Linked DNA regions of Homo sapiens: regions 2 and 3 are each linked to region 1. Evidence: promoter capture Hi-C in human tissues and cell types (Jung and others, 2019). All regions are on one chromosome and are shown on one strand. The core of a region is centred on a gene start or on the middle of the fragment in contact, and the rest is flanking DNA. Distances in the headings are between cores, read along the strand shown. Region 1 holds the start of C16orf95 (chromosome 16 open reading frame 95). Region 2 has its middle 45 kb from the start of LINC02189. Region 3 has its middle 61 kb from the start of LINC02189.

Region 1 (2,700 bases), core at 85-2,584:
AGTCCTTTTAATTTTAGCCATTCTTGGGTGGGTGAGGGCAGTGAAGAGCTATTCTTGACATGGAATGACAAGACCTAGTGTGCCCGAGGTGAAGGCCTGAGCGTCCAGGGGAGCATGAGCCTGTCTTCTATGCCCTGCTGTGCTATGGCAGTGTTTCAGTGTGCTCTGGAGGAAAACAGCAGAGAAGCCGAGTGCTCCAAAGTGGGCAGAAATGAGACAGGCATAATGTGCTAGGCTAATGGTGACTCTTGGAATTTTGTCATTAGCTACAAAGAGGGCAGTGACATGATTTACACACACACACGGGGTGGGGTATCTGAAATATTAGGCAGCTAGTATGGCAGGGGCACCGTCTAATCAGCATGGATGCTGGCCAGGAGAGGACATGTGTATGTGCTGGCTGGAAACAGTCCTGCTCATAGGTCACGATCTTAATGATTAAATAACAAGGCAAGAAATCCGAGAGGGCAGTGCCTGGGAGCACCCTGTTTGCTCTGTGGCCAGAACGCAGCACACTGAAGTATTGCCCATCAGGGTAAGAGGTGCTCGTGATGGTTTGGGCAAATACAAATATTAATCCAGAGTATTTGAGTCTACATGAAAATACTGAAAAGTGAGGGAAGACCCAACCGTTTCCAAGAAATACAAATTGGAACTGGCGATAACTTAAAGAACATAATCAGAGAGGCAGAGGGCATTGGGTTTTACTAAAATATGAAGACATACGTCCTGTCTCCACGTCAGCAACTGCCCAAAGTACACGCGTTCCAGCGAAAAGAGCGGGTGGGGTGGGGAGGCTCAGGGCCAGCCAGAGCTTCGGTGCTTGCACGCCCAGGCCTCCGGGTGACGACTGCTTCCAATTCCGCGCCCTTTAAACCCCATGTTGTTAAAAAAAAAAAAAAAGAAAGAAAACCTATTTCTCTAAAAGTCACGATTCGAGCCCCACCTGAGGACGCAGCGATCCAGCGCCAACTCATTATCTGAGATAAAGGAGTGATTTTACCAGAAGCGCCTATGCAAGACGCAGGGCCCCGCGCGGGCTGCTCCCACCTCTTTCTCTCCTTGCAGGCTACCGAGACCCTGGCTGGGGCGGCCGGCGGCCCCTCCGGCCCATCCGTCGGAAATGATGAGTGGCTCCAGTGGCCGGGGTCCGCAGGACCTACCCCAGCGGGCATGGCGGGAGCCCCGCAGCCCCACACAGCCGCGCTCTGAGCCGCTGACCCCGCGTCTCTCGTGAGGGACCAATCAGCTGCCAGCTAAGGTCACATACCTAGAAGGCCAATTTTGATTGGCTGGGCGCGGGCTAGTCAGCGGGACGGGCGGGCGCGCGGGCGTTGTTGGGCTCCTCTGAGCGGTTGAGGTTGGGGCTGGGGTTGAGCTCGGGTTGGGTTCCTCCTGGGGCAGGAGGGAAAGGCGGGAGCCAGGGCGTCAGGGCCTGCGGACGATGTGTGTGTGAAAGGGCGCGTCAGCCATAAGAAGCCATATGCGTGCGAGCCGGTCCCCACCGTCCCCGCGGCGTTGTCACCATCATCATGAGGCCACTGGAGCAGCCTCAGGCGCTGCTGCCGGGGGGCCGGGCGCGGGGTGCGTCGGGCTCTGCAGGTTGGCACTCACACCCAGCGCGCAGGATGGCAGGCAAGTGAGTCCTGAATCCTGCCCGCGGCTACCCGACACCTCGCCTGTGAGTTCCCGGCCCGGCATTGCTCCATGACCTATGCACAGGCAGAACTCTTGACCGCCACCCACAGGAACCTCACTTACATTGGCTTAACAAAAACGCAACTGATGGTTCCACATAACTGAAAATGTCAGAAGTAGGCCTTCAGGCATGGATGTATCCAGGTACACATTGACCATGGTCCTGGAAGGTTTCTCTCCATCTCTCAGCTTCCTTCCTTTTTGCTGGCTTCCCTTGTGGAGGCAAGATGATCACCAGGACCTCCTGAGGTTTACATGTTATCAGATTATCAACCTCAACAAAAAGGAGATTCTTTTTTTTCCCAGCTTTCCAGGCTGGGCAGTGGTGAGTTTGGCCCACCTGAACTACAAGGACTGAGATGGCTGTGGCCCCCCCCCTCCCCACCAGGAATATAGCAGTGCTGTCATTACCAGAAGGGGCCTCGGATGCTGTGGAGGGCAGTGCCCCATCCTCTGTTTTCAAGCATTATCTGGGAGAGTTGATGCGTGAACCTATTACTCTCACAAAAATAGCAATAATAATAATGGTTATTATGACAATGAAACCCAAAAACACTTATATCGCTCTTACGGTTTCCACATACAAAGCACTTTGACCCACTACTGTCAGGGAAGCAGGGCTTTGCACCCACTGGAGACGCTTCATCCAGCCAACATTCAAGCAGTTTGTTGGGGAGTGGAACAGGGAAGAGCCACACAGGCTGTGTAACCCCAAGTGCTTTGTCATCCCAGAGACAAAGCACCCGGGTTTTTATAGTGGAAGGAGGTTCATTAATGGACAGTTTGACGATGTTTTTTCTTCAGTATTTCAGTAAGTTGAGGGTGTCTGACAGATCATCCTAGGTGATGTGATTGGCAGCTACATGTCTTGGAAAGTTCTCAGCAGGTTGGAATGCTCCTGTCTTTTCTGATGCTCCAAGCACAAGTGTAGCTGGAGTCAGCTTGAAGCTGGTTGGCTTGGGAATGCAGGATTCCATGACAGCCAGCCCCCAGGAGCCCCTA
Region 2 (2,721 bases), core at 133-2,632, 640 kb after region 1:
GATAGGCAGGTAAGCAGAGTTCGCCAGCAGAACAGGAGACAGTGCTGGCAGTGACAGAAATAGGCTGGGTGCATTTCAGCAGACAGGGACTCTCTGCTGAAGGAGGAGGAAACTGGGGAGCTCCCACCTTGCTGGGAAGGCTGTGGAACAAAACTTGGCAAAAGGCAGAGACAAAAGAGACCAGACAGGAGGCAGAACAGGAGGAAAGTCTTGTTGAGCACAGTCTGGGCAGACATGCTTTGTGCAGAGGGCCTCCTCATGGTGTGGGGATGGCGGGGAGAGGGGAGGGGGGCAGGGGGTGAGCGCCAGTGATCACAGTTGTCCCTGTACTCACTCCATTCCTGATATGGTTTGGCTGACCATATCAAGATGGTCAAATCCCATCTTGAATTCCCATGTGTCGTGGGGGGGACCCGGTGGGAGGCAACTGAATGATGGAGGCAGGTCTTTCCCCTGCTGTTCTCGTGATAACAATTAAGTCTAATGAGACCTGATGACTGATTATAAAGGGGAGTTTCCCTACACAACCCTCTCTCTTTGCCTGCTGCCACCCACCTAAGATGTGACTTGCTCCTCCTTGCCTTCCGCCATGATTGTGGGGCCTCCCCAGCCATGTGGAACTGTAAGTCCAATAAACCTCTTTTTTTTTTTTTTTTTTTTTGTAAATTTCCCAACCTTGGGTATGTCTTCATCAGCAGTGTGAAAACAAACTAATAGGGTTCCTTTTGCCTTTGGGAAAGAGAGTCTTTTAGCTATTTGGGCACAAGGGTGTGGTATCCAATTGCTTCTGCCCAAATATTACATGGGGCCTACATATACAAATAAAAATATTTGTAGTTTACCTAAAATTTAAATTTAACTGGGCATCCTGGTTTTTGTTTTGTTTTGTTTGTTTCTGATTTTTCTCTCTAAATCTGGGAACCTTAGGTGATATGTCAGGTTGGATTAGTTGTCTCCAAAATGAAAGAGCCCCATGCCCTCACCCCAGTTCCCTCCAAGCAGTGGCCAAAGGTCCTGTTTGGAGGAAACCTTCTGGGTTCAGTGATATAAGGGTGTGTGCTGGCAGAGAAAGTCCAGCCAGCAACTCACCCCATGGCCACAAGAGCAAAGGCTCCCAGTAAGAAGCCATATCCTGAGAATATGGCTGGTCCAGGCCCCTCTGGGGAAGTTACCAAAGACTGAGCTCTCCTCTCCTTGGCCAGGTTATGGCAGGAAGAGGTGAGCTTCTGACCAGGAGGCCATGCAGGAACACTCTGCCCTACCACTCTGTGCTTTTCTGGCAGAGCTTCCACCATGACTGTGTTTGCCAGCAGGAATTGCACGGCCCACCCAGAAAACCACCGTGCACCCCTCCAACGAGCAGCCCAGCCCCACACAGTCCTAGGAGAGGGGCCGCATACAGGCCTTGGGCACATGTCACCAGGAGAGGATGGCGTTTCCTTCTTGCAGAAGGCTGCTGGCCAGTGACTCATGCCTATAAGACAGTGACCAACAAGCCCTCAATTTGCAGACCTCACTTTAGTCCACAGAAGTCTATAAAAACCAGACCCGACCTGCACAGAACACATTTTGAGCCACCTTGTCTGGGAAAAGCCAAGAAATGGGCTGATTCATGCCCTTTGACCACCTCTCTCTCTCCTTGTCCAACAGGCTCTGATTCACACAGACATGTCAGTGCATGACACAGGAGGAAGAGCCCTCAGCAGCCTGGAAACACAAGCTCCTCTCTAGCCATGGCAGGCCTCTGAGAGAGAGGGAGCTGATGAAAATAGGTCTCTCACAATTTATTCACTCATCAATTATTTCTAAGCTCCTACTCTGTGACAGGAGCTGCTCTAAGTACGGGGAATGCAAGAGTGAACAAAACAAATACAAACTCCTGTTCTTATAGACAAGAAACCCTCACTCTTATAGTTAAGAAACCTGGCTCTTATAGACCAGAAACCCTCGCTCTTATAGACCAGAAACCCTCACTCTATAGACAAGAAACCCTCGCTCTATAGACAAGAAACCCTCGCTCTTACAGACCAGAAAACCTTGCTCTTATAGACCAGAAACACTTGCTCTTATAGACCAGAAACCCTCACTCTTATAGACCAGAAACACTCGCTCTTATAGACCAGAAACCCTCGCTCTATAGACAAGAAACCCTTGCTCTTACAGACCAGAAAACCTCGCTCTTATAGACCAGAAACCCTTGCTCTTAAAGACCAGAAACCCGCGGTCTTATAGACCAGAAACCCTTGCTCTTATAGACCAGAAACCCGCGGTCTTATAGACCAGAAACCCTCACACTTATAGACCAGAAACCCTGGCTCTTATAGACCAGAAACCCTCGCTCTTATAGACCAGAAACCCTCGCTCTTATAGACCAGAAACTCTTGCTCTTATAGACAAGAAACTCTTCTGAATGGCTCCTCTGTGCCAAAAACTGCTTGATGACTAGATCCAGGGTCAAATAAGACCAAGGTCCCTGCCTGCCCTGCATTTATTCATTCATTCACTCATTCATTTTTTCACTCACTCTTTGACTGTTTCTAATCATCTACTGTATGCCAGCAAGTTGCTAGATGGTGCAAAAAAACAAAAAGTAAGATAGACATTAACAGTCTCTGATCAGGGAAAGAGGTGTGTTAAAAAAAAAACTCTGAACAGCAAGATAAATTCCTTAATAGAAGGAAGTATAAAGTGCTTTTAAAATGCATGAGAGAAGAGGCAAAC
Region 3 (2,758 bases), core at 137-2,636, 660 kb after region 1:
CCCAATCAATTCGTGCAAACAAATGAACAGAATCAGATTTCCAAGGAGTTCTTCAGGAAGTCAAGTAATGCATTGACCCTTTCCTTCAGCATTACATCCACGGAGCCTGCCTGTCTAAATGATTCAGATCCGCTCTGCAACTCTATGCAGGAGAAACACATTTTCCTTTTCTGGTGGATCAGACAACAGCAGGACTTCTGGATTATGTCTTCTGCATAGGTTGCAGCAGGGAAACATAGCATTACGCGTGTAGACAGGGCAGGTTTAATGCTAGGCAACGTTCTTAAGGGAGATCAGAAAAGCAACTAGCATGCCAGGTCTACTGTCCCGGCCCCCAAGGCTCAGCACAGATATTTGGAAAACCAGGAGTTGAGCATTTGACTGGAAAATAAAAACAACATAGACTCGTGCATTTGATCAGTGAACTTGGAGCGCACACCATGGATTAGGCACAGCTGGGCACCGAGGAGACATCACCTGGCTTATAAGTCATCTGTGCCCTCTGGGGACTGACAGTCCAGCTGGGAATGAGGATCAGGAGGTCAGAAATTAAGTAAAGAGCAAAGAAGAATGCAACATGAGTAAACGCAAAAATAAAAAATAAAAACAAACAAAACAAGTTGGCCCTGACCATCAGGCAGTATGGTATGGAGAAGACCACGGGCTTGTGTCTATCAGTCAGACCTGCTTTGAGTCTTGGCTCCACCATAAACCAGATGAGTTAAGTTTCATACCCTCTCTAAACGGTCGCCTCAGCTATACAACAGGCTCAATGATATTCACCCCACAAGATTGCTATAAGAAGGAAATGGTATGACCTTGGGGCAAGAAGAGGTACCATTGTCCCCACTGTCCACAGATGGTGACATTTGTTCAGGACAACCTGGCCATTAAGGAGGAGAACTCTATGAGAACAAGGTCTGCGTCCCTAGATGGCATTCATACAGGTACTCACGATGCTAAGAGGTATTTCATGAAATAAAGAGTTTGTGGTCAAATAAGTTTGGAAGATGCTAGGGTGAACAAGCTTCTTTACTATAGGACTTCAAGTGTCTTTAACTTACTGTCATATGTTCAAAATATTCATGAGTCAAGAGGTGCTTCGTAAGCAAGAACCATTTCACAAATCTGGCTTACTACTGCACAGAAACATGTTCAGTGAAGGGCCGAGCTGTGTGCCTGCCAAGGCCTGGCACTCCCCTCCCAGCCTCCTTCTATGCCAGGTGTCCTCTTGGAGTCAGGAAATGGTCTTAGCCAACTTCAGAATTTCTCCGTGCTTCATGTGGTGTTTGGTTATTTTAGGTGATCGATTAATCAACAGAGGAATGCTGAAAAGAGTTAAAGAGTTAAGCAGTAAACCACTTAGGCACAGAGGTTTATGGGTGCATAGAGGCAGAACTGGAATAGAATGGGTGCTTGACAAGCAACGATTCCATTCCTTCTTGCACAGGACAGATCCCTACCCCCTGGAGTCAGGTGAGAAAAGAGGCTTAGGGCGGTGGCCGCCCCAAGCCACCTAGCTGAGTCTGCAGGGCAGGTGGCATGCACGAGCTGCCGGATGTAGCACCTGGCGTCCTGTGTGGACCTTCCAAGCAGGAAGAATGTGACTGCTCCTCTGCCTTTCAAATCTTGCACAAAATGTGTCTTGTGGACCACACTAACCTGTAATTATACAGGAGAGGGGACTTGGGGGACATGGTTGCAGCTTAGCTCAAGTGATGCGGGAAGAAGCCCTACTGGCCTTCTGGAAGTTCTTCAGGCACATGGGCAGGACACTACCACCCTCCCCAAGCTGTGTACTTTCGTGTGAATCAGAAAATAGTGCCCTGTCTGGTGGAAGTGGCATGGCAAGCAGCAGGGGGGTTGGAGTCTAGCTTCTGCCTTCACCAGGCATCCTAGGATGGTGCACAGGCTGTTCAGCATACGTGTAGCCCAGAATTTAAGCTGTGGTCACTAGGCTCATGTGCTTCTTTAAAAGCAAATTCCTCTCAATAATCCACCAGTCGTGACATACAAGTAAGAACTGACAGTCCAGCAAAAGAGCCAGAGATTATGCCTGCATTGAATCTGAATTGGAAAGGAAACTCAAGTCTGTAGTTTCAGGTGTAGAAGCTTTTATACCCAACTGTCATTTCCACAGAAGAGGGAGAGCAGAATTCTTTCCAGACACAAGAAACAATACAATGCAATAGAAAAGATGCCCTTGCCACATGCCAGCCTTCAAACGGCAGGGAAGGACAAAAATACACTTCAACTACAGACTCAGGCTGAGTTCCAATGATGTCTTTAATTTAGGAAGGGAGACTCCGTGAGACTGCCTTACCCTGGCATTCATGGACCATGACCCCAGCACCCACTTCAAAAATAAAATAAGTAGATGGATGGATGGATGGATGGATGGACGGATGGATGGACTAATGAATGGATGGATGGAAGGATGGATGGACGAATGGATGGATGGATGGATGGATGGATGGATGGATGGATGGATGGATGGGTGGGTGGGTGGATGAATGGATGGATGGATGGATGGGTATATAGATGGATAGACAGACGGATGGATAGGTAGACAGACAGATAGATAGAGATTGGTATGTTGCATGCATTTTTCAGAAGATAGTGTTCACGGTTTTCATTACATTCTCAGATGAGTCGCTTACTCTGCTTTCAATGTAATAATGGCCAATAAAAGTGGGTAAACATGGCAGAATACTAGTAGAATGGCTGAACCTGCATGTGCAGGTCATAGTCGATGCCC

The links. Contacts are between HindIII fragments. The study calls those that stand out against the background at their distance.
Region 2: a fragment that was not itself captured here is called in contact with the fragment with the promoter of C16orf95 in region 1 in 1 of the 25 tissues and cell types used here (IMR-90 fibroblasts).
Region 3: a contact is called between a fragment that was not itself captured here and the fragment with the promoter of C16orf95 in region 1, in 2 of the 25 tissues and cell types used here (IMR-90 fibroblasts and lymphoblastoid cells).

The regions. Positions count from the first base shown.
Region 1 is chr16:87,316,026-87,318,725 of GRCh38, reverse strand. It overlaps C16orf95 (chromosome 16 open reading frame 95), which reads left to right and starts at 1,334. Exons shown (of 7, transcript NM_001195124.3): 1 at 1,334-1,635. The coding sequence starts at 1,484. It overlaps C16orf95-DT (C16orf95 divergent transcript), which reads right to left and starts at 1,217. Exons shown (of 2, transcript NR_135180.1): 1 at 1,004-1,217; 2 at 683-869. RefSeq lists an enhancer at 1,307-1,756. The HindIII fragment of the contact is 14,678 bases long and covers 1-2,700 here.
Region 2 is chr16:86,675,295-86,678,015 of GRCh38, reverse strand. No RefSeq gene overlaps it. Among named protein-coding and RNA genes, the nearest start is that of LINC02189, 45 kb to the left of the region's middle. The HindIII fragment of the contact is 7,441 bases long and covers 1-2,721 here.
Region 3 is chr16:86,659,234-86,661,991 of GRCh38, reverse strand. No RefSeq gene overlaps it. Among named protein-coding and RNA genes, the nearest start is that of LINC02189, 61 kb to the left of the region's middle. The HindIII fragment of the contact is 4,543 bases long and covers 1-2,758 here.